7 separate regions of the Homo sapiens genome follow, and regions 1, 2, 3, 4, 5 and 6 are each linked to region 7. The links are contacts of gene promoters, found by promoter capture Hi-C in blood cells and fetal thymus (Javierre and others, 2016). All regions are on one chromosome and are shown on one strand. Each heading gives the region's core, a stretch centred on a gene start or on the middle of the fragment in contact. The rest is flanking DNA. Distances are from core to core; before and after follow the strand shown.

Evidence for each region. Contacts are between HindIII fragments. The CHiCAGO score rates a contact against its expected background, and 5 or more counts as called.
Region 1: a contact is called between a fragment that was not itself captured here and the fragment with the promoter of DIAPH3 in region 7, in 1 of 17 cell types (M2 macrophages). The highest score is 5.0, in M2 macrophages.
Region 2: a fragment that was not itself captured here is called in contact with the fragment with the promoter of DIAPH3 in region 7 in 1 of 17 cell types (erythroblasts); the score reaches 5.4 in erythroblasts.
Region 3: a fragment that was not itself captured here is called in contact with the fragment with the promoter of DIAPH3 in region 7 in 1 of 17 cell types (M0 macrophages); the score reaches 5.4 in M0 macrophages.
Region 4: a fragment that was not itself captured here is called in contact with the fragment with the promoter of DIAPH3 in region 7 in 2 of 17 cell types (M0 macrophages and erythroblasts); the score reaches 6.3 in M0 macrophages.
Region 5: a fragment that was not itself captured here is called in contact with the fragment with the promoter of DIAPH3 in region 7 in 1 of 17 cell types (M0 macrophages); the score reaches 6.0 in M0 macrophages.
Region 6: a contact is called between a fragment that was not itself captured here and the fragment with the promoter of DIAPH3 in region 7, in 1 of 17 cell types (M1 macrophages). The highest score is 5.3, in M1 macrophages.

What each region holds. Positions count from the first base shown.
Region 1 is chr13:59,708,035-59,711,479 of GRCh38, reverse strand. The region is part of intron 27 of DIAPH3 (diaphanous related formin 3); the gene reads left to right. Among named protein-coding and RNA genes, the nearest start is that of DIAPH3-AS1, 300 kb to the left of the region's middle. The HindIII fragment of the contact is 3,621 bases long and covers 203-3,445 here.
Region 2 is chr13:59,688,462-59,691,754 of GRCh38, reverse strand. All of the region lies in intron 27 of DIAPH3 (diaphanous related formin 3), which reads left to right. Among named protein-coding and RNA genes, the nearest start is that of DIAPH3-AS1, 320 kb to the left of the region's middle. The HindIII fragment of the contact is 2,220 bases long and covers 354-2,573 here.
Region 3 is chr13:59,792,549-59,795,820 of GRCh38, reverse strand. All of the region lies in intron 25 of DIAPH3 (diaphanous related formin 3), which reads left to right. Among named protein-coding and RNA genes, the nearest start is that of DIAPH3-AS1, 220 kb to the left of the region's middle. RefSeq lists an enhancer at 2,060-2,925. The HindIII fragment of the contact is 2,042 bases long and covers 678-2,719 here.
Region 4 is chr13:59,879,750-59,883,020 of GRCh38, reverse strand. All of the region lies in intron 20 of DIAPH3 (diaphanous related formin 3), which reads left to right. Among named protein-coding and RNA genes, the nearest start is that of DIAPH3-AS1, 130 kb to the left of the region's middle. The HindIII fragment of the contact is 220 bases long and covers 1,228-1,447 here.
Region 5 is chr13:59,736,382-59,739,599 of GRCh38, reverse strand. All of the region lies in intron 27 of DIAPH3 (diaphanous related formin 3), which reads left to right. Among named protein-coding and RNA genes, the nearest start is that of DIAPH3-AS1, 270 kb to the left of the region's middle. The HindIII fragment of the contact is 1,331 bases long and covers 653-1,983 here.
Region 6 is chr13:59,814,835-59,818,124 of GRCh38, reverse strand. The region is part of intron 24 of DIAPH3 (diaphanous related formin 3); the gene reads left to right. Among named protein-coding and RNA genes, the nearest start is that of DIAPH3-AS1, 200 kb to the left of the region's middle. The HindIII fragment of the contact is 1,943 bases long and covers 704-2,646 here.
Region 7 is chr13:60,162,138-60,165,427 of GRCh38, reverse strand. It overlaps DIAPH3 (diaphanous related formin 3), which reads left to right and starts at 1,500. Exons shown (of 28, transcript NM_001042517.2): 1 at 1,500-1,841. The coding sequence starts at 1,662. It overlaps LOC105370227 (a long non-coding RNA gene), which reads right to left and starts at 1,371. Exons shown (of 2, transcript XR_942001.2): 1 at 1,229-1,371. RefSeq lists an enhancer at 1,062-1,111. The HindIII fragment of the contact is 7,568 bases long and covers 1-3,290 here.

The DNA of each region.
Region 1 (3,445 bases), core at 764-3,263, 450 kb after region 7:
TGGTAGCAAGAGCAATAGCATCATTGTGGTAATAACAAAAGAAGTCATTGAGTCAGTGAGAATGGTGTGGTAGAAATGGAGATAAATAGTTCTTGATCATGACAGTTGTGGGGATGGTGGTAGTAGATTATAGGGAAAAAAAAACCTGCTGTTAGCTGCAGGATGCTCAGAAGGGCTGTGGATAAGAAAGCCACTCCAAGCTTCAAGGACTGTCCAGTACAAAGGAGTTTTTAAATGTGGTTGGGCTCCATTGTTAGGAAACAAATCACTATGCTCACTTAAACTTGGACCTTGGGGAGTGTATTTTATGAGTTCAGTACTTAATTACTTTCACGGTTCAAGAACACTGGCAAAGTGACTTAAAAGTACACAACAATTATCTAACTATTTCATAAAGTCAATTTAAGGGTGGAAAGTCTATATTAAAATGACAAGAACAGTGCTCACTTGCATGTACTTTAAAGAGCAAGGTAAAGCCTCGCTTCTTGGCCAGGGTGCATTATAGTCATTCAGTTACATCCTCTGAGTGTTTTTGTCTTTTTGACAGAAGAAACTCATCTCAAAGTATTGTTTTGTTCTGTATAATAAATTGTGTTGCTTAAAAACTTTCAAGCTGAACTCAGAGCTCTGTGAATTTTTTTTAACTTGTTTATTTGAATAGCTTTTGTGAATAAACCTGTTCTGAAAAAGGAGGTAGTAAAACAGTTTAAGAAATTAATACAAAGGCAGTAATAGCCAACATTTGTTGAAAAGGCCTGATACTCTGCTAGGATATTTACGTATATTATCTCACTTAATCACAACAATGTTAAGATGAGAGCCAGCACAGCATTATCTTCTGTTTACAAATAAATGAAGACTCAGATTTTCCCAGGCTCACACAACTGGCAACCCAGTCTGTTGCCAGAGCCATTTTTAACCAGATTGTTAATTGAGCAAGTTCTTTATTATTCCTTCTCCCTTGATTGTTTAACAATAAGAGAGATGAGTCACCATTTTATTAAAATATCCCTAATCTACTCCCATATTTTAAATGGCATGTCTTTTTCAGCTTTATAATTTGTTGTGCCATTTTTTAACTAACTTTAAATGTAGAGAGTACATTTGAAATAATCAAAATGAAGTTGTTGGGGTTTTTTTTTAAGATCTTTGCAGATATACCATGGTATTACTTTTTAGCACTTTTCTTTTTTTTTTTTCCAAAATAAATTTTTATTTTTTGTTATTTATTATTATTATACTTTAAGTTTTAGGGTACATGTGCACAATGTGCAGGTTAGTTACATATGTATACATGTGCCATGCTGGTGCGCTGCACCCACTAACTCGTCATCTAGCATTAGGTATATCTCCCAATGCTATCCCTCCCCCTTACCCCCACCCCACAACAGTCCCCAGAGTGTGATGTTCCCCTTCCTGTGTCCATGTGTTCTCATTGTTCAATTCCCACCTATGAGTGAGAATATGCAGTGTTTCGTTTTTTGTTCTTGCGATAGTTTACTGAGAATGATGATTTCCAATTTCATCCATGTCCCTACAAAGGACATGAACTCATCATTTTTTATGGCTGCATAGTATTCCATGGTGTATATGTGCCACATTTTCTTAATCCAGTCTATCATTGTTGGACATTTGGGTTGGTTCCAAGTCTTTGCTATTGTGAATAATGCCACAGTAAACATACACGTGCATGTGTCTTTATAGCAGCATGATTTATAGTCCTTTGGGTATATACCCAGTAATGGGATGGCTGGGTCAAATGGTATTTCTAGTTCTAGATCCCTGAGGAATCGCCACACTGCCTTCCACAACGGTTGAACTAGTTTACAGTCCCACTAACAGTGTAAAAGTGTTCCTATTTCTCCACATCCTCTCCAGCACCTGTTGTTTGCTGACTTTTTAATGATTGCCATTCTAACTGGTGTGAGATGGTATCTCATTGTGATTTTGATTTGCATTTCTCTGATGGCCAGTGATGGTGAGCATTTTTTCATGTGTTTTTTGGCTGCATAAATGTCTTCTTTTGAGAAGTGTCTGTTCATGTCCTTCGCCACCTTTTTGATGGGGTTGTTTGTTTTTTTCTTGTAAATTTGTTTGAGTTCATTGTAGATTCTGGATATTAGCCCTTTGTCAGATGAGTAGGTTGCGAAAATTTTCTCCCATTTTGTAGGTTGCCTGTTCGCTCTGATGGTAGTGTCTTTTACTTTTTAGCCCTTTTCTATCTTAGCTGTAGCCAATCTGTTGTTTTGAAAAAAGACCAACTTAATAAAAGTAAATCATGTTAAACTAATGATTCTATAAAATTACAGGCTCACCCAGAAATAAAAGTTATTCATCTGAAAGAATACAAAAGATTATGTATTCATTTAAAAACTTTTTCTCAGGTATGATTTTGTTCCAAATGGGCATAGATCTGCATTTTTTACAGATTTTAAAGAGTTTATATGTGTCTGAAAGTAGTTATCTCTACGTGTTGAGAGGACAGGTGATTTTTAAGTTTCTTTATTCATCTTTATAGTCCTGATACCTGGTAACTTTTTAAAAAATTATACATGGGAATAAAGGTCTTTTGGTAAAGGATTTTTAGTCTATAAGGTCTTTTTAAAATCCAGAATAAATAGCATGTTTTTAAAATATATTTATTATTATTATAAAAGCAATATGTCTTATTTAAAGCATTCAGAAAATGCATTCCAGAGACAGGTCAGAGCTGTGAAAATATAAATTGGGGGATTGCCAGTAGGTAAATGGTATTTAAACAATATGACTGGAGTAGATTGCTTTGAAATTAAGTGTAGATATGAGAGTTAATGTATTCAAGGACAGCCCTGGAACATACGGACATTTGGGGCTCAGGAGGAAGGGCGGAAACACAAAACACTGAGATGGAAAACCAAGCAAGGGTGAAGTCCTGGAAGCCAAAGGAAGAAAGAATTTCAGGTAGCAGAGAGTGACAACTGTGTCCCGTCTGCTGAGAAATCAAGTAAGGTCAGAGTTGTAAAACGACCATTGGATTTGGTAATGTGGAGGCTACTGTGACTTCAAGAAGAAGGGGAATTTTAGTGCAGTGGTAGGGACAAATATCTGATTGGAATGAGTTCAAGAGAGAGTAAGAGAAATTAGAAACTGCGATTGTAGGTAACTCTTTCAAGGGAGTTTGCTATAAAAGGAAAGAGAGGATGAGGCTGGAGGTTCAAGACTAGCCTGGGCAATATAGTGAGACTCCATCTCTAAAACGTTTTTTTTTTAATTAGCCTGGCATGGTGGCTCTCACCTGTTGTCTCAGCTACTTGGGAGGCTGAGGCAGGAGGATCGCTTGAGCCCCTGAGTTCAAGACTACAGTGAGCTATGGTGATGCTGCTGCACACCAGCTTGGGTGACAGAGCCAGATGCTGTCTCTAAAAAAATAATAAAATGAAAGGAAGGAAAGAAATGAATTAGTAGT
Region 2 (3,293 bases), core at 214-2,713, 470 kb after region 7:
CATTTTAAATGCACTTGAGCTAAAACATTCTTTCCTCCTTGTTTACTTCTTTCCCTTTCTCTAGCTTTGCTTCCTGTCTTTTGCTTATTTTATTCGTTCTACATGCTTTAACTAAAATTGATCTATATACAGACTGAAATTTCAGGTTGAGTTTTATTCTGAATATTCCTTAATCATCATATGTTCACAGTGAGACCTTTTCTTGTGGTCAAAAAGATTATAATTTTGCTGATATAAAGCATATTAATTTAACAGAAGCAAGCATATGGAAATGGTTCAAATGTGCCAGGTTTTATTTTAACTACTGGTCTTTTACCATATTTCCTAAACACCTAGATATCAGTAAGTAAGCTTTTATAATCTTTGATCTGATCTCATAGTTCAGCAAAACATTGCTCAAGGTTGACAGTATGACCCATGGGGATAAAAAACAAGACTAATGATATGAGTAAGCAGAAATTCTTCTCTCTCATGCAGGGCAAGGGTCTGTGTAATTTTCTCAATCTAGTCATCCCCTTTCCTTTGGAAAATCCAAAAAGATAAGATAAGAAATTACTTAAATTTTTAATGACTAAAAAGCAACTGATAATTAACAGCCATCCTGCCTTCCTGTGTGTTGCTGCCATCATTCTCCCTAAACACCAGACCCTTTTACCTCCCAGCATTTTGTATTTGCTTCTTTTTCTACCCGCAATGCCCTACTATTCTTCTTTATTTGACAGACTCCTACTTACATGTCAAGACCCAACACAAATGTTACTTTCATAGTAAATCCCCTGGAGGTCTAGTTCCTCTGTCCTCTTTGCTTCTGCAGTATTTTTTCCCATAGCTCTATTTTAGCACTTATTTATAATTTATTTGTTTTAATAATTTGTTTCTCTCTGATAGATATGAGTGCCTCAAGGCCTAAGATCTTGTTCATCCTTGCATCCCTGGCCTCAGCACAATGGCTGGTAGATGCATAGTAGGCAATCCATTATTGTTTGCTTCAATTGCATGAATTAAGCAACCAATCACATGAAATGTCTGACCAACAATCTTCTACTTTGAAACCAGTGTATTCCCAAAGTTAATTTTTAAATCAGTTGTTTTGGAATTCACAAAGCAATTTCCCATAGAAAGAATGTTATAAATGGTGGTTAGGTTCCCAGGCTAGCCCTCAAGAGTCTATTTAACCCATAATGTAGCTGTAACACTATGCAGTTGTAATGAAAAATAGCAGAAAACAACACTGTTACAAATGTGCAATGTTTTCATTACATTAAGTAAATACAATTCCTCTTCTGTATAGAAAATGCAGTCTAGGGCAAATTATACCAACCAGCAAATGTAATATGATCTAGTGACAAGAGCAGGATGGCTGAACATAGGCCAAGCTCTTTCACTAATTTGCTTTATAAATTGTTTAACTTTACTATGCCTGAATTTCTGCATCTGTCCAGCCAACTTGGTAATTCTTGCCTGCTCATGCTGAAGAAAAGGTAAAGTAATGTATATAAGAATGCATTGAAACACATAAAGCCCTATAAAAATGCAGTGTATCATGGCATAAAGTGCTCACAGACAAATGAAATTAGACTGAATTTTGGACTTTTAATGGAGTGAAAAATAAAGGAGCAGAGTTGATGTTTCAACTTCAGTTGCCCAACCCCATCACCTGGAAGCTAGGTAACCATCATGTTATCCTTTCTTCACCATGAGCAAGTCGAAAACACATGAGTTAATATCTCTGGGCCTTGGTTTCCTCTTGGGTAAAGTGACATTGTGCAAATTAGATGACCTTCCAGTTCTTTTAATCTGGATGTCTGTGTTTAACATTATTTGGATAGAGTAGCAACTTTCATAGCATAAAAAAATGTCCTGGAAGGGTCATAATTATATGGTCTGAATTTCTTCAGTTTTCTGTGATCAGCTTACTTAAAGCATCACTTGCATAACATACATACACACACACACACACACACTGCTTAATACAGTTTTTTTTCTTAATCTGCCAAATCTGTCCGCCCTAAAACCAACTTGTCCCCCAACATCTGCCAAATCTTTCCACCCTAAAACCAATTTGTTCCCCACCGTCTGCCATCAAAATCAGCGTGGAAACCAACTTCTGTCAAATAATATCTCCATCCAAACCTGCAGAATAGCAGTCTTCTCGTTTCTTACTCAGAATTTTGCTTTCTTCCATGAAGAAGAAAGTTTTCCTTCATGATTTGCCTAAAAATTTCTCCTTGATTCTGGTGCACCAGATATATACTTGGGAAACTGTCTAATCAAATTTTATTCTCTATTAGGAGCCATCTGTTTGCTGATGACGACTCTGTTTGTTTTTTATTTTAGTGCAATCCATTTTCAATCCTTCATCGGTTTTATCATACCACCTGCACTTCCCATTTTCCCAGCTCATTCCTTCCTTCCTCTTGTGTGGGTGAAGAAGGAGACAGGGTGTGGACAGCAGGAGGCCGCCGTACTCCTAACAGAATACTTGAGGCTCAAATTCTTCTCTCTGACTGATTAGAATGCCTCTCTCCCCAGGTAGTCCAGGCCTTCTTTACTTTCTCCCCTGTATTTAAGCTTCCTCAGAAATCTTGTGGCCTTTCAGGAGACTTTCTTGCAGCAGAAGAAAGAAGGTGCTAAATTCTTGCAATCTTTAACTTTCTATAACAAGAGATTCACAATTATCTCTCCCTCAATCATTGCTTTCTTTCTGTGCCTGGGGATTGACTAGTACATAATAAAGATGAAACCCAGTCTACGTAGTTGATTGCTTTTTGGTGAAACTCTATTACATAAACATCTTCTATGTGAAATTTCCAACATAATTTGATACTAAAATGTTAGTATTAGTTAACCCATGTTATGTGAGTTTTTTTCATTGTCTTCATATATTCATCTGCATGAGTGTGGCCTGTCTTGAATCCTAACCATCCACTAAATGGGTACTTGGTAGCATTTTTAATAGATTTTTCCTTTACGTAAAGTTCCCTGCAAGTTGTTTCTGATGTATCTAATCCTATTGTTACTCAAAACTGAAATGAGACCCTGCCCTTATGAAGCATGATTTCACTTAAACTATCTCTAGGTGGACCTCACTCCACCAAAATTCTATTGTATTTATTATGTGCACAATTCATTTGACACTTGAGTGACACTAAAAATGAGTCAACATAAGCTCCTCTTTTGTCCCTGGTCCCTTTCAGACCAATGACAGTACCTTAAACTTCTTGGTGGTTCCTAGCTCTGTGTCTTATGCATATAGGTGCTCAATAAACATTTATGGATTCATTATTCATTTA
Region 3 (3,272 bases), core at 449-2,948, 370 kb after region 7:
GTTTGTCTAGTAACAAACTTTAAGTTGTGAAACCATAGCAAGCCACCCAGTTCAAGAATGACATACCTGGCCAGGCGCAGTGTTTCACGCCTGTAATCCCAGCACTTTGGGAGGCTGAGGCAGGTGGATCACGAGGTCAGGAGATCGAGACCATCTTAGCACGCACAGTGAAACCCTGTGTCTATTAAAAATAAAAAAAAATAGCCTGGAATGGTGGCGGCCACCTGTAGTCCCAGCTACTCAGGAGGCTGAGGCAGGAGAATGGTGTGAACCCGGAGGCGGAGCTCGCAGTGAGCTGAGATCACGCCACTGCACTCCAGCCTGGGCGGGAGAGCGAGACTCCATCTCAAAAAAAAAAAAAAAAAGAGAGAGAGAATGATATACCTAAATTCCCTGGGACAGAAGCATCTCCTTAAATTCAAGAGAAGGGAAAGGATGCCATTTTCCTTGGTGGCCAGGCCCTATAGTAATAATGATTTCTTTTCAGATAGTTCTTCCTGAAATTTAGTCTTAATTTTTCATTATATTATCAGCCTATCTACTGTCTCATGCTGAATGAAGATGAAGAAATATAAATATAATAACCCAGAGCACCATGAAGTCACTTTTTTGTCTTACTTCCTTTGGCCTGAAGAGTCTTGCGTCTTGTGCTTCTCGTACATTCTTAATCTGAAGCTTTCGTTCATTCTCCTTTGTGCAGTTGTCCAGGCAAATTTAAAGGCAATATTTGATGGAGCCCACACAGAGTGAGGAGATGTGTGGAGCTAACTGCGGCCCACAGGCCATTTACAGAATGAACTATGAAAGACAACCATTTTGTTTCCTAATGACCTACAAAGCATGTACTATGTCTTGCAGACTGAGGCATTCACAAGTTAATACAAATTGTTTTCCAGAGTTTCATTGCTTGAGGAACATGTCTTTCTTTCAGCTTATTGGGAAGGAAAATTAATCATTCCTAAACAGCATGTTAGAAATATTCCAAAATGTTTAAAGAAGAATATTTATACTAGGCTGGGCATGGTAGCTGGTTCCTGTAATCCCAGCACTTTGGGAGGCTGAGGTGGGAGGATCTCTTGAGGCCAGGAGTTTGAGACCAGTCTGGGCCACACAATGAGACCCTGCCTCGATAAAAATAAATAAATAAATGATATTTATAGTGGATTAGATAGTGATCAAAATTCGCATCAGAACTTGGACAGTAGAAGGATGTGGCATTGAAGAAAAAAATCTTGCACCACTGGCACTATCCAACAGATCTGTAACTTTTCAAATGAATGATACATTTTTTAATTTTTTTTTTTTCACTAAAGAAGATTTGAAATTGCTGACAGGCTATATAAGAATCCTATTGAATATTCCCCTAATAGGAAATGTAACTGGAAACTCAGTGCTTAGGGATACAGAAATCCTTCTATTATATTTACCTTCAACAGTTGTTAAAAAGGACTCATAGTGTTTTGACATGAGTAGGTGGTGCCATTCACTGAGATAAGGGACACAATAAGAGGTAGAGGTTTGGGGAAAATGGTAATTCAAGTTTGTATATACAGATGCACCTCAACTTTTGATGGGGTTATGTCCAGATAAACCCATCATAATTTGGAAATATTTTAAGTCAAAGCTGCATTTAATATACCTAAACCTACCAAACATCATAGCTTAGCCTAGCCTACCTAAAACATTCCAGAACACTTATAGTAGCCTACAGCTGGGCAAAATCATATAACACAGAACCTATTTTGTAATCAAGTATTGAATATCTCATGTAATTTATTGAATACAGACAATGGTTGTATGGGTAGTCAAGTACAGTTTCTGTTGAATGTGTATTGCTTTGCTTGATTGTAAAGTCAAAAAATTGTAAGTTGGGAACAGTCTGTATTATATTTGAGGTATCTCTAGGACATCCAGGTTACCATGTCTAGTGAGTAGGAAGGGGCTAGTATGACCAACACATCCCAGATTGCCTAATTCTCCCAGTTTTATCACTGAAAGTCCTGTGTTCCAGGAAACCCCTTAGTCTTGCAAGTCAGGATGGTTGGTCACCCTAGTTGGAACTCAGGAATAGCGCTTGTTGCTGGTGATAAAAACTTGGGAGTTTTCAGTAAATGAAGCCATGGAATGAATAAAACACCAATGGAAAATTCAAGGAATGGTGTAAGAATGAGCAGAGTAAGAAGATCCCAGAAGAGGACCTTGACAAGGGAGTCACATGAAAGTAGTAGGAAGACCAAGAAAGTCTGGTATCATGAAGCCCAAGGAAGAGACCATTTCAAAAAGGAATGGGTAGTCAACACAATCAAATACTGCTAAAGAATCATGTAATGAACTAACAGCCATCCCATTGACTTTAGCTCAAAGAATAGCGTAAAGAGTTAATGAATGAATATGGGAGATGAGACTGAGATATGAGTAAGAAAGGGTAGTAACTACAGGGGATTTAGAAGTCAAAGGGGAGGACAAAGCAGGTGTTTTAATTTGTTTAAATGCAGACTGGGAGGAATGAGAAAGGAGGGCAATTGGAAGAGAATGACAATCAATGGAGTAAACTTCTGAGGGCGGCAGGAGGGGTGGAGAACAACAAGATACTAGCACAGGTAGAGGAAATTGTCTTGGAAATCCACATGCTCTGCCATTGTGATAGATTGAAAGGAGGAAATGTTGGGCCTAAGTGCAGATACATTTGTAGGTTTGATGGTGGGAAGTTAAGGAAGCTTTCATCAAGTGGTTCCTGTTTTCTATCTAAAAGGAAGGCCTTTGCAGAGGAAGGGCCATGGTTGGTTGGGAGGCTTGAGTGAAGTGTGTAAGCATGTAAACCCTCTCAGGGAGTGGGAGAGCCTCCTGATGAAACACAGAGGAGTGCTGAATAGCATTAAGAATCCAATTGAGGTAGCAGTTGCACATATGTACTAGTTCAGATCCTGTGGTATTGTTTCTTACCGGCACTACTCAGCATCTGGAGTAATGCCAAGAAGATGGAGTTTGGGGCTTATTTACATTTTAGTGGGAGTCTGAAAAAGTAGGAGAATGAAGGAGGGAAGTAAGATACCAGCGTGTGAACCATGGTCAAAGTGATGCACCACAGAGTCTAAACTAGATAGTCAAGGATATGAAAACAGTGGTGCCAGGGCATTGGAGATTTTCATGGGTAGATGACAGGAAAAGAGAGAGAGGAAAAGGACATGGGTCAGAAAATGGTTGTATGAATTCAAGTTATTGGAAGTAAAACAGCTCTGGGTAGTGACAAGATTTCGATTATGGCCAAGGAA
Region 4 (3,271 bases), core at 88-2,587, 280 kb after region 7:
GAAATAAAATTACCCTTAGGGTTCTGGATATTGCTTCTTGATTTTTACCAGTCACTGCTTTTAACATCTCTTCATTCTGACATATGACATCTGTGTGTGGGGGGGTTACAGGAGTACTGCTCCCTGCCTTCAGGAAAAACAGGAGTGAAATCAATGTATTTTTCCTTTTTTGGATTGATCTTCAGATTACATCTCATTATTGTCAGATTTGGGTTTCGTGAATTTATATTGCCAAGACTTTGTAACAATAGATTTAAAGGATAACTGTAAAAATGAAATTCTAATTTCTTCTAGCATTCTAATTATTAACTAGCTTACATTTTATGTTTATTGTTCATTTACCCTTTCCTTTTTCTCATTTTTAAAAATGACTTTCTGTTGCCATTCAGAGTATTATTTGAGCACCATAGTTCATTTCTGCCTTCCACTTAGTCTTAGACAAGTCAGAAGTTTAGTTTTCTTAGCAGGAAAACAGAATGCAAATCCCCAGTGTTGATAGAATATGAGAAGTGGTGAGGATGCGGAAACATTGGTCGGGCTTTTTACATATACATATATTTTCCCCCTTCTTAACCCTTTTTATTTGATTCCACCTGAAGAAATAAAGTTTGATTCAAATAATGAGGAAAAGGGCTGGGCGCAGTGGCTCATGCTTGTAATCCCAGCACTTTGGGAAGCCCAAGTGGGTGGATCACTTGAGGTCAGAAGTTAGAGACCAGCCTGAACAACATGGTGAAACACTGTCTCTACTAAAAATACAAAAAATTAGCCGGGCGTGGTGGCTCATGGCTGTAATCCCAGCCACTCAAGAGGCCGAGGCAGGAGAATTGCTTGAACCCAGGAGGTAGAGGTTGCAGTGAGCTGAGATTGTGCCACTGCACTCCAGCCTGGGTGACAGAGTGAGACTCTGCCTCAAAAAAAGAAAAGTAACCCTTCTGTTATTATCATAGATTCCATGATTTAGATCTTGGAACATTAACCTTAAATGATATTTTGTTGTTAAATAAAAAGGGCAACCATTTGGCCTAGGGGTCATCATATGACTAAATAGTGAACTAAAGACAGGCACCTTCTCCAGGTGACCTTTCAAGTTCTTTTCCCACTCAATAATTTTATTTATTAAAACACATTTACTCAATAATAGTCAAATACTGATTTATCTAAACTTGGAAGAAAGAACAATAGGAAAAGGACATCTAATTTTTTTTTTAAGTGTTGTTCAAAGCTTTGTTTTTAGGTTACATTTCCTGACTTTGCCTTGTCAGGGATTTTCATGAACTTGTAGCACTTTGTTCTGCATTACATCATAGACTTACTCTATCTTTTCAAGGTACCTGTCCCTAGTGCCAGATACACTCATTATTCATACAAATCTAGGTTATATTTTTCTAGGAGAATTAATTACTCTATGCTGGCTACATATGGTTAGCTTGTCAGCAGGAAAGCTTTAACATATTTTGGGGTGGTATAATGTAGGCATTTAAGCAGTCTCTTTTTTCTTCTGTGCATGAATGTAGTAGTACATTAATATATGTTAGAATTAATATATTTCGTAATACAAATGTTTTGCATAGAATACTGGAGAATTTCTTCTCATATGTATTGCAAGTACCTGGCTTCATAATCATGAATAATGGCACTTACTGAAAACAGCGATGCTATGAGCCCATTATACACCTTCAGAATGGCCATAACTACAGGTACTACATGTGAGTGCTCTTTTGTATGTCTGACTGCTCTAAAGGACATATTAAGTGTAATAGAGCATTATTCATGTTACCAGTGTCATATGAACATCTTCCTTTTGCAATGGTTAAGGATAAAAAAAATCCAGGTAAGTGAACCCATCTGTCTTAAAATATAATATATTTTAAGACAAATGTCTTTGTGATAAGTGATCACTGCTTAAAAAGAACAATTCATGCCCAATAAGAATCAACATTATAATAGTACATCTTTGTCTCTTTATAATTTCATATCGCTTAAACTTACTCTATAAACTTAATGATATTTCTTCTTCTTCTTTTTTTTTTTTTTTTTTTGGTCCTTGTTGAACTTACATTCTTTGTTTTTCCTAGACAGTGGAATATGAAGACGTTCCTTAAAGTGCCTTGTAAAGTAGACTTCTTATTAATAACTACATTAATTGAGCCCTTAGAATCTTGATTGTATATGAATAACCATTTAATTTGGCAAGGGTCTGGGGAGAAAGCTAAGTATAAATTAGATATTTATATTATTTGAAAATGGAACTTTTCATTCACTATAGGGCTTTGGTCTATATGAAAATATTCTCTCAGAGTTGTGTACAAAGAACTAATTCTTTATTGCTCAATTTTTGTCAGATGAGTAAGCTGAGTTATGTTTAGTCATTAAGGCAGTGTCTATAATATATTGGAGTCTTATAAGCCTTTGTCTAGTATATTTTAAGTAACGGTCATTATTATATTATGAGCTGATAGCTTTCTGTATCCCAAACAATCATGATTTTCATTATATTTGGCATCCTACAGGCTTCATATAGCATTGTTTTTTAGCCTTTCCTTTACAGTCTGTGACTAAGGGAGAAACAGTCCCTATTTTAATCTGTCACTGCTTTTTTTCTGACCTTGCCTTAACCTGCTTTTGATATTTACAATAGTTGTTGAAGTTCAACAATTTTACTATTACCGCCCCTTCAGTGCGTTTTAAGTCCCAAATCCCTAGTGTGTTTGGTCAAGGAATTCATATCTAGCTTCATATGTGGTATGTCTTCAGCCTACAGCTAAGTGATTATTTCCTGCATGTGTGTTGATATAACACAGGAGTAAGGATAAAGGCAGGAACTTGCCCCTTTGTTCTTTTAGACACCTCCAGTCCCCCACATTCCCAGTAGAGAAACCTAGAGTCCCAGACAGGGTTAACTTGGCATGTGATAGATTTGTGGGTTTGCACCGCTTCTGCCTGCTACTACTCCCATGTTTCCTAACTCTGATTCTGCTAATTTAGTATGTGTCAGGAGTCATTCTACTTTCCTGTGTTTCTGAAGAAAGTCAATTTAGTACAAATTGGGACCTATTTACTCTCCCTCTATCTAACACATACTGTTAGTCAGCAGGGTTTCTGAGGACAGCAATTGCTATTTGAAGAAAACAAACCCTCTTTAGACTTTTCTGAATGTGTTTTAAACATGACCCAGTATATTGCAGTATTGAACAAAAATTATTCAAAATAATGACATGAATGCCTTGTAATTTGTGGCCTATGTATCTTGTTACCTTTTTAGAATTTA
Region 5 (3,218 bases), core at 69-2,568, 430 kb after region 7:
GTGGTTACTAAATAAGTTCTATATGTAAAAGCAGTTCACAAAATGCCTGTTCCAGAGTAATACTGAAGTAGACCTGAATACCACAGTGACCATTGTACTTCTGATGCTACTAGCACCGGTGCTGTAATCATTAATACTCAAAAGGGTATTGTGAGGGCACATGTTGGTATTAGTATTCCCAATTAACAAATGAATACTTAGAGGAGTTAAGGCATCAGCTCACAGTGTTACATATGGAGTAAAAAATTTCTGACTCTTGTATTTGATGTGGTTTTTGTATTATACCATGCAGCCTCCAACAGTTCAGTATTAGGATGCCAAATACATTCAAGATTCGAACTGCAATTCAGTAGATGAAACGTAGTCAGTTTATTTTATACAGCACATTATTCTAAAGGATCACATTCTTAACAAAACGCAAATTCAAACCTTCAAATCCCTTTACTAATCCCTCTACTAACAGTTGTTAATTTTGATACTTTGGACCTAAGCACGAGGGATAGTTCTTAAGAAACATGATCAGGAGAGATGGGAGGCCAGTAAGGAGAGCGTTTAAATGTCAGCCCTGAAATGTTCTTAATACATATAATTGTATTGCTTCTATTCTGTAAAAAGAAAAATTCAAAAAGGGGGAAAAAAAGGAAGCAAAGCTTCCAAAAGTGAGAAAGCCATTGGTTGTAAACATAGTCAAGTTTTTATGGACAGATGATGTGTTAGGGAAAATATCTCAGTATACAAGGAGGCATATAGGTAAATATGTACAGTGGTCAAACTGACTTTTCAAAATTTGAAAAGATACATTTCAAGTCAGTCTGTAACTGTTACTGGAACAGATGCAGAAGTGACTTGATCTAAAGAATTCCCTTATGGGTGTTGCAAGCTGTTATGTGAAGGAGTAGATTTTTAAAGTGGTGCCACTTAAAGATACCTTCATGGATTAGTGGGATTATAGGTTTTCATCAGTTGAGGAATATATTCCCTTGTGCATATCCTCTTTTTAGTAGTCTTAGTATTTGACAGTAGGGTAAATCCGTCTTGGTGGGGGCCTGCCTGTCATAACAGCCCCTCCCTTCTCCAGTACAAGGAGGGAGAAGAAAGCTAAAGGAGTAAGACAGTTCTTAAGCAATTTAGGTACTGCTTTAGCAAGTTGGCATGCCTTGGGTCTGGCCAGTCCACAGAGCTCGCTGTTTCCCTGGAGGCTCCTCTGCTGAGCTTTTTCTACTCCTACAGCCAGCCACTCCTGATCCCACTCATTCCCCATTCACCCCCACCCTCTTGCCTCTGTGGTCCCCTTGCTTTGGCAGGCCACCTTCTTGAGCAGGATCTCTACTAAGATGACCCCAGGCCGTTGTTGTCATGGGCACCAGTTCTGGTCAAAGAATTCTAGATATCAGGTAATTGTTTATTTTAATTTATTTTGTTTTTTATTTTTTGAGATGGATTCTCTCTCTGTCGCCCAGGCTGGAGTGCAGTGGCGTGATCTCAGCTCACTGCAGCCTCCCTTCACCAGGTTCACGCAATTCTCCTGCCTCAGCCTCTCAAGTAGCTAGGATTACAGGTGCCCACCACCATGCCAGGCTAATTTTTGTATTTTTAGTAAAGACAGATTTTCATCATCTTGGCCAGGCTGGTCTCGAACTCCTGACTTCAACTGATGCACCCACCTCGGCCTCCCAAAGTGCTGGGATTATAGCCATGAGCCACTGTGCCCGGCCTAATTTTATATTTTAAATGAAGAAGATAGGCCTTGTATATTTCTGAGGATGGCAACTAAACTTAGAATGTATTTGAAGATAAGAGTTTGCGTAGAATGAGCAACTACTATAATGGCCAGTGTTTTGTTGTATAGGTTAATTCATTTGGAATTCAGAATAACCTTTTTGAGGTAAATCCACTTTTACAGATGAGCAAAAGGTGAGGTTAAGAGAGTAAGTTACTCCAGGCCTTACAGCTCTTTACCTAAATCAAGATTTACATCAAGCTTTATAAGTCCACGTATGTTGGGGTTTGGAGCTAGTAAAATTATTGCTGCCTTACTCACTATGATACTATCTTTTTTATACTCTGAGGCTGACATAAAACTTCCCTGGTTTTATGCTGATTTTGTTTAACAATAGTCCCAATGCCTAAGTTTTGTTCATATTTCTATGTCTGATGCTTAGCTTAACATAGAATACATAGTAGATTCTCAATAAATGGTGAATAAATGATAATGAGTATGCAAAGAATATAGGCATTAAAATTAGGCAGAACTGTTCATATCCTTTGCCCACTTTTTAATGGCGTTGTTTATTTTTTCTTTTGTAAATTTAATTTCCTTATAGATGCTGGATATTAGACCTTTTTCAAATGCATAGTTTGCAAATGTTTTCTCCCATTTTGTAGGTTGTCTGTTTACTCTGTTGATAGTTTCTTTGGCTGTGCAGAAGCTCTTTAGTTTAATTAGATTCCATTTGTCAATTGTTTTTGTTGCAGTTGCTTTTGGCACCTTCGTCATGAAATCTTTGCCTGTGCTTATGTCCTGAATGGTATTGCCTAGGTTGTCTTCCAGGGTTTTTATGGTTTTCGTTTTTACATTTAACTCCTTAGTCCATCTCGTGTTAATTTTTATATATAGTTTAAGGAAGGGGTCCAGTTTCAATTTTCTGCATATGGCTAGCTACTTATCCCATCACCATTTATTGAATAGGGAATTCTTTTCCCGTTGCTTGTTTTTGTCAGGTTTATCAAAGATCAGATAGTTGTAGGTGTGCAGTCTTATTTCTCTATCCTGTTGCTTCAGTCCGTGTCTCTGTTTTGTACCAGTACTATGCAGTTTTGGTTACTGTGGCCCTGTTGTATAGTTTGAAGTTGGCTAGCGTGATGCTTCCAAGCTTTGTTCTTTTTTGCTTAGGATTGCCTTGACTATTTGGGCTCTTTTTGAGTTCCACATGAATTTTAAATTTTTGTTTCTAGTTCTGTGAAGAATGTCAATGGTAGTAATGGGAATAGCATTGAATCTATTTTTTGCTTTGGGTAATATGGCCATTTTAATGACACTTCTCAAAAGAAGACATACATGCAGCCAACGAACATGTAAGTCTCAAAACGACAGTGAGGTACTACCTCACGCCAGTCAGAATAGCTATTATTAAAAAGCCAAAAAAATAACAGATCCTGGTGAGGTTGTGGAGAAAAAGGAACACTTACACAGCTGGTGGAAGTGTAAATTAGCTCAG
Region 6 (3,290 bases), core at 426-2,925, 350 kb after region 7:
TGTAAATAAACGGCTGTGGCTATGTACCAGTAAAACTTTGTTTACAAAATACGTGGTCAATCTAAGGATTATAGTTCGATAGCCTCTGCTCTAAAGGTTGTATTTAAAGAAGCAACAAAAAACAGATTGAGAGACAGGAAGCCATAGGTACTATGAAAACAAATGTAAAGAAAGTACACAATAAAACAATGTTACATAAATTTATAAATTGAGTGAGAGAGATTTAGAATTTGGGTTTTCTTTATTTTAGTCAAGGGAGAAAGGGAGATACAGATATTAATTAACTTTAGGTCTTGTTAAGTTGCTAAAAATTTATTTGTGTAATAAAAATACAAGGATAACCAGTGAAAGGATAGAAATATCAAGTATAAATTCTAAACTGTAGTGAGAGAAATAGACTAAGAAGGATACACCAAAAAAAATCAGGAAAAATAAAGGCATAACTAAAGCTAGACAAATAGATGGAAACAAACATTTTATAAATCACAATAAATTTTTTAAAGGACTGTAATATCGTATAAAAAATAAAATCTGGTTTTATGCTGTTTATAAGAGACCTCCCTTTACCCTATGGATATAGAAATGTTTGAAGTAACAGGACAGTTAATGAAATACAAGGCAACTATTAATCAGAAGAAAGGGAAACTATGTTAATAGGTACAATTGACTCAAGACATTAATTACTTCATGACAACAAAAAGCTTAATTCACGTGAAAGATACAACAATTTAAAAATGGTATGTGCCTAATAACATAGCCCCAAAATGACATTGTAAAAATTAATAAACTATATCGATAAGTTGACAGATTTAGGATTATGTTAGGAAATGTCAACAAAGTTCTTTAACTTACTGATAAGCAGAAAAATATCATTAAAGACAAGCGTTAAACAATTAACAGACTTGATTTGATTAGTGTATATAGAATTCAAACTCGATAATTAAAGAATACACATTTTTTCATGCACAAGTTGAACTTTTATAAAATTGGTTACATACTAGAGACCATGAAATCTCAATACATTTTTCAGTGCCAGTTTTATTTATTTATTGACCACAATGACATGAAATTAGAAATAAAATTAAAAGGATGAAATTTTAAAACCTCTAGTTTGAAAATTCTAAAAACACATTTAAAAAGTCATATGTCAAAGATGAAATCATAGAAAACAGTTATACCTGAACAATATTGAAAATACCCCACATTAGACTTTGCTGGATGCAGTAAAAATGGTATAAATTTATACCATATGTGCTTAAGAGAATAAGTCAAATGTTCCTACATATATAAAAGATAAATATTTAAGGTTATGGATATTCCAATTACCGTGATTTGATCTTTACACATTATATAAAAGTATCAGATTATCATATGTACCCCCAAAATATGTACATGTATTATGTATCAATAAAATAACTTTTATCAGAAAGACTTAAAAACATCTGACTTCAGAAATTTAAAAAGGATTTATATGATCCTAGAGAAACCAGAAGGAGGGATATGAAAGATTAAATGAAAGAAAAAGTGACATAAAAGGCAAAAATGAGGTTATTCTGAAAAGACAAGTTAATTAGATATATTGCTAAAAAGATTAATCAAGAAAAAGAGAAGATAAATAATATTGAGGATATAAAAAGGAACATAACTAAAGATACAGAAAATAGTAAAAAGAGAGGAGCTTTCTGTAAAAATTTGTAGGATAGTATTGGAAAAGGTAAATGAAATGGATAAGTTCCTAGACAAAAATAACTTACTGAAATTACTTTAAAAGAAATAGAAAGCATGAATAGTTCTATAACTAATTTTGATTTTAATGACTTTTAATCTTTGAAATAAATACTTGGCCTAGAAGTTTTTCAGATACATTTTACCAAATTTTAATGAAATGATTATCTCAAACAAATGGAATACAAAAATGTATTTTATGACTAAATGTTCAAAAAGATAAATTCTTCCTGTCCAAATTGAGTTTATCCTAGAAGTGAAAGTATGGCTTAATATTAGAATATTCATAAATATAATTCACTATATTGAGTCTAATGGGAAAAAAAATTGTGAAATTTCTCTCAGTCAAGTCAGAAAATCCTATTCAGATTTCAAAACAAGAACCATGAACTAATTTAACCCTCCACCCTACTCCAAAGTAGGAAAGGAGTCAAAGGAAACCCTTTAACCTAATACTTAGAATCTAACTCCTAGTCAGTATAGCAAGATAAGACAAGTAGGAGTTGAAAATGTAAAGATTGAAAAGGGAGAAAATCAAGCTGACATTATAGCACTCTATGAATAGCAAAAACAAATCCTATAGGAAAACTATCAGAAATAATAAGAAAAATTATCAGTAGCATATATAAAAATTACATTTTTTAGGCTGGGTGTGGTGGCTCATCCCTGTAATCCCAGCGCATTGGGAGGCTACGGTGAGAGGATCACTTGAACCCAGGATTTCAAGACCAGCTTAGACAATATTATCAAGACCCCCATCTCTACAAAAAGTAAAAATTACATTTTTATATGTTACAAAACAATAGAAATCATTGTTTTTGAAGAAGGCACCATTTACAATAGCAAAAGAAATGTATAGAGAGTAAATCTAACAAAAATGTCCAAGACCTGAATGGAGAAAATGAGTTTTTTTCTAAAGCTTTTTTTAAAGATCCAAGTTAATAAAAAGCCACATGCTGTTCACAGAAGACTCAAAATTGTGAAGATATCAATTAAAAATGCTTATAGTCCTTTTCAATGAAACTTAACAAGTCTATTCTAAAATACAGATGGAAGAGCAAAGGCCCAAGGATACAGAAGGCATTCCTAAGTAAGAAAAATAAGATGTAAGCCTTAATAATTAAAATAGAGTATTATTCTTAGAGACATGGTTATATTGATCAAATGGACTAAAACAGCCATAAAATGAAGCAACACACATGTGCTAATTGAAATCCAAAAGAAGTGACTTTGCATATTATTGGAGAAAGGATGGGCAAAAGTGAATTGGATCTCCAACTCATACTGTTCAAAAATGTTGATTCCAACAATGAATGAATGGATTTTTAAAATGTGGTTCATATACACAATGGAATACTATTCAGACTTAAATGAAAAAATGGAAATTCTGTCATTTGCAACAACATAGATGAAACCAGAAGACATTATATTAAGTGAAATAAGCCATTCACTGAGAGACAAATACCATAATATGATCTCACTTACGTGTGGTATATAAAAAAGTCAGACTTATAGAAATGGAGAATAGAATGGTGGTTATCATTCCACTTGGAGGGTAAGGGGGT
Region 7 (3,290 bases), core at 251-2,750:
CACTTCATGGCTCCCCATAGTGCATGTTCTCCCTCCCTGAGTAATAATCCCAACTTCTTCAACTACAGTATTCCTGTAGGAGCATTGACAAAACTCTAAGGGCTTTACATATGCTATGTTATTTAGGCCTGAAAATGCCCCTCTTTCATAGGTATTAGTATAATTACCCCCCTTTTGTAGATGAAGCAGCAAAGAAAGTTAAACGTCATCTCCGGTATCAAATAGCTAGTAAATGGCAGGAATAAAATCTGTATCTGGGTCTGTCATCAAGATATAAGGAACTACTTGTAGTTCTCCTGACCTTGCTGTTCTCCTGTAAGTTTCCCTAAAGATTATGTGCTCTTTGAGGACAGAGCTGTAGAGTCTGGCACAGTAAAACAAATATTAAAAAAGAAAAGCTGTAGTGTGAAGACTTACTGAGAACTAAGGCTCATTTTTTGAACCTCTGTGCCAAACTCCTCAGAGTACCTAGAGTTGTTTCTTGTACCAAAATCAATACTGCATGTTTCCGAGTCTTGGCCTACACCACCTCCATATAATCAGAAGACAGATATCTTAAAGGAATAGTTCCAAGGAAAAGCTCATTTTTAAAGAGGGTATATTGATGTGTTGAGAAAACGGTGTTTGCCTTGTAGCTTGACCTTGGGTTTACACAACAAACTCTTTTGCATGGTTTCAGTTCAAGGCCCTTTGTTATGTGACCTTAAAGTTTCTTCACCTCTATGCTTTCTTGGCCTTGCTCCTGCCTGGAATGGAATGCCTTTTAAATGAATGCCCTGCCACTGTTTCCTGCCTAGTGAAAACCTATGCAGCTTTCCTTTTACCTTTCCAGATCCACTCCTTCAGATTTAATAACTTCCCTTTTTGTTCTCAAGGAACTTCTAAAACAACTGCTATAGACATTTACATTCCTTGGTTAATTGTGTTAGGGTTTGGAAACTACAGGAGACTGTGAGCTCCTGAAGGGCTCAGCCTAGCCTAGCTCTGTCTGATTTTGGGTGGACCCCTCTGCCACCCCAGAGCGAGCACTTAGGCAGGAAATATGTCCAGAAGGCTTCCTTTTGGAGCGTCGTGGGCCCCGTCGTTTCATCCTGCCTAGTACCCCTTCCAGCACCGTACCCAGTCCCAGAACTACTTTTTCCAGCCCCAGACGTGCAAGGAGAGGGCTAGCAGATGGTTTTATATCCCAGCGCTGCTCAAATGGTGGCGCAGGGCCTGTCTCGCCCACCTTCCAGTTCTGCTGGAACCCTATCTGCAAATCCAAAGAAATCCAGGCCGATGACTTCCTCCACGGTCCCCGGCGCTTCTCCAAATCTGACGCCACTCTGCGTCCTTAAGGTGAGCGGCCTGGACCGCCGGAAGGGTTGAGCGGCTGCATAGACAGGCCGCAAGGCCAATCATGTTTCGCAGTGCCCGGAAGGGGCGGTGCCTCAGCGTGTCATTGATCCGGCGGCGCGGGATTGGCCAGTCCCGGGCCAACACGGGTGGCGGGAGTTTTCAGATGTGTTGGCTGCGGCCCCGACTTCAGCGGTTGGGCTAGGCTGTGCTGACTGTTTGGGTGGCGGACCCCGGGAGTAAAACCTGTTGTCGATCCCTCAGCTTCCAGCTTGCGGCTTGCTGAGTGGCCACCTTCTTTCCGGTCCCCGGAGCTGCGGGGAAAGATGGAACGGCACCAGCCGCGGCTGCACCACCCGGCCCAAGGCTCAGCCGCTGGGACTCCCTACCCTTCCTCAGCCTCTCTCCGCGGCTGCCGGGAAAGCAAGATGCCGCGCAGGAAGGGCCCCCAACACCCTCCGCCGCCCAGTGGCCCCGAGGAGCCTGGGGAGAAGCGCCCCAAGTTTGTGAGTATCGCCTGGAGCTAGGGTGGGGCCGCTCCCGCCCCGCCGTAGGGCTGACTGCCGAGGGTGGGCCCACAAGAACTTGGGGACCAAGTTTTATTCTAGAGATCCAGAGGTGCCAAAGATCATAGATTGACAACGACCGGGTCTAGTTGTAGTTGGATCCTGTGACAAATGCCCAGATCTTTGTGTTGCCCCCAAATTTCTTAACGCTGATGTGAAAAGCAGTTCAAACGTGTATATGTATTGACGTCATCTAGGTGGACATTGCATTTTTTAAGTCGAAGTTCTCCCTTCCTCCCTAGTGTAAGAGGGTATAAGATATATCAAAATGAACTTTTAGGTGACAGGTTTTTTTTCTGCTTATTATTTTAATAAGAACTTTTAATTACATATAAGAACTTTTAAGGTAGATATAATTTTCCAAGTTGAAACAGCTAGTTTTAGAACTTGGCGGGTGGTGTGGTCACTGCTAAAGAATGTTTTGCTTAGCTTGGAAAGAATTCTAAATATTTGAAACTTGCTATTCTGGTTTGCTTGTGTTTAACACTTAAGGAAAGTGTCATGATTAACACCTTGTCTTTTCGTTGGTGTCAACTAGTGAAAGTATAGGCAGTGATGATTATTTTGGGGTTTGTGTGTGTAAATAAATCACATAGAGGGTTGATAGATTTGGGATGAGTCCAACAGAATTGAAATTTCACATTGACCACTCCACCATTTTCCTTAGGAATATGGAAAAACTGTGTGTGTGTGTGTGTGTGTGTGTGTGTGTGTGTGAGAGAGAGAGAGAGAGAGAGAGAGAGTACAGCATTTGCCTTATGTGGGCAAGTAAAAATTGTGAGAAATTTAAGTCATGATTCACAAATTAAGGGAATAATGGTTTGTGAACCAGTTGCTAACTATAACATTTAGTTAAAAATAATAGTTGAATAAGACTGAGAGCCCATATTCTGATACATGAGATATATCAGAATACTGAAAATGAGAAACAGCATAGATTAATTGAAAATGAGGAACAGCATAGATTAATTATGCCAAATTAAGTATCAAAATGGTCATAGGAATAGTGACATTTTGCAGAAGGATCAAGTATGGACTTGATCATTATCTTGACAAATCTGAAGAATGAATAGGACAGAGTTAACTTCCCAATGAAAGATTTTTGCCTAATGTGAGAAGAATCCACTAAGGCAATGACTTTTCTTCCTTTTATAGTCTACTCTCTGGGTTAATAATCTTATTTTATTTTGTTTTAACTTCTGTGGTCCAGAATACAGGAGGTGTTATTTTCTGTGACTCATTCCCAGCAAGGAGGTCATGAAAACAGGATCTAAATTAGTATTTATGTTAAGTTTCATTGAAGGATTTCATCATTTGGTTTCCAGTCTCTGTGCTGTTTTTCATTCTTATGTATGTCACATTGACCATCTCAGCATGCCATTTGTTAAA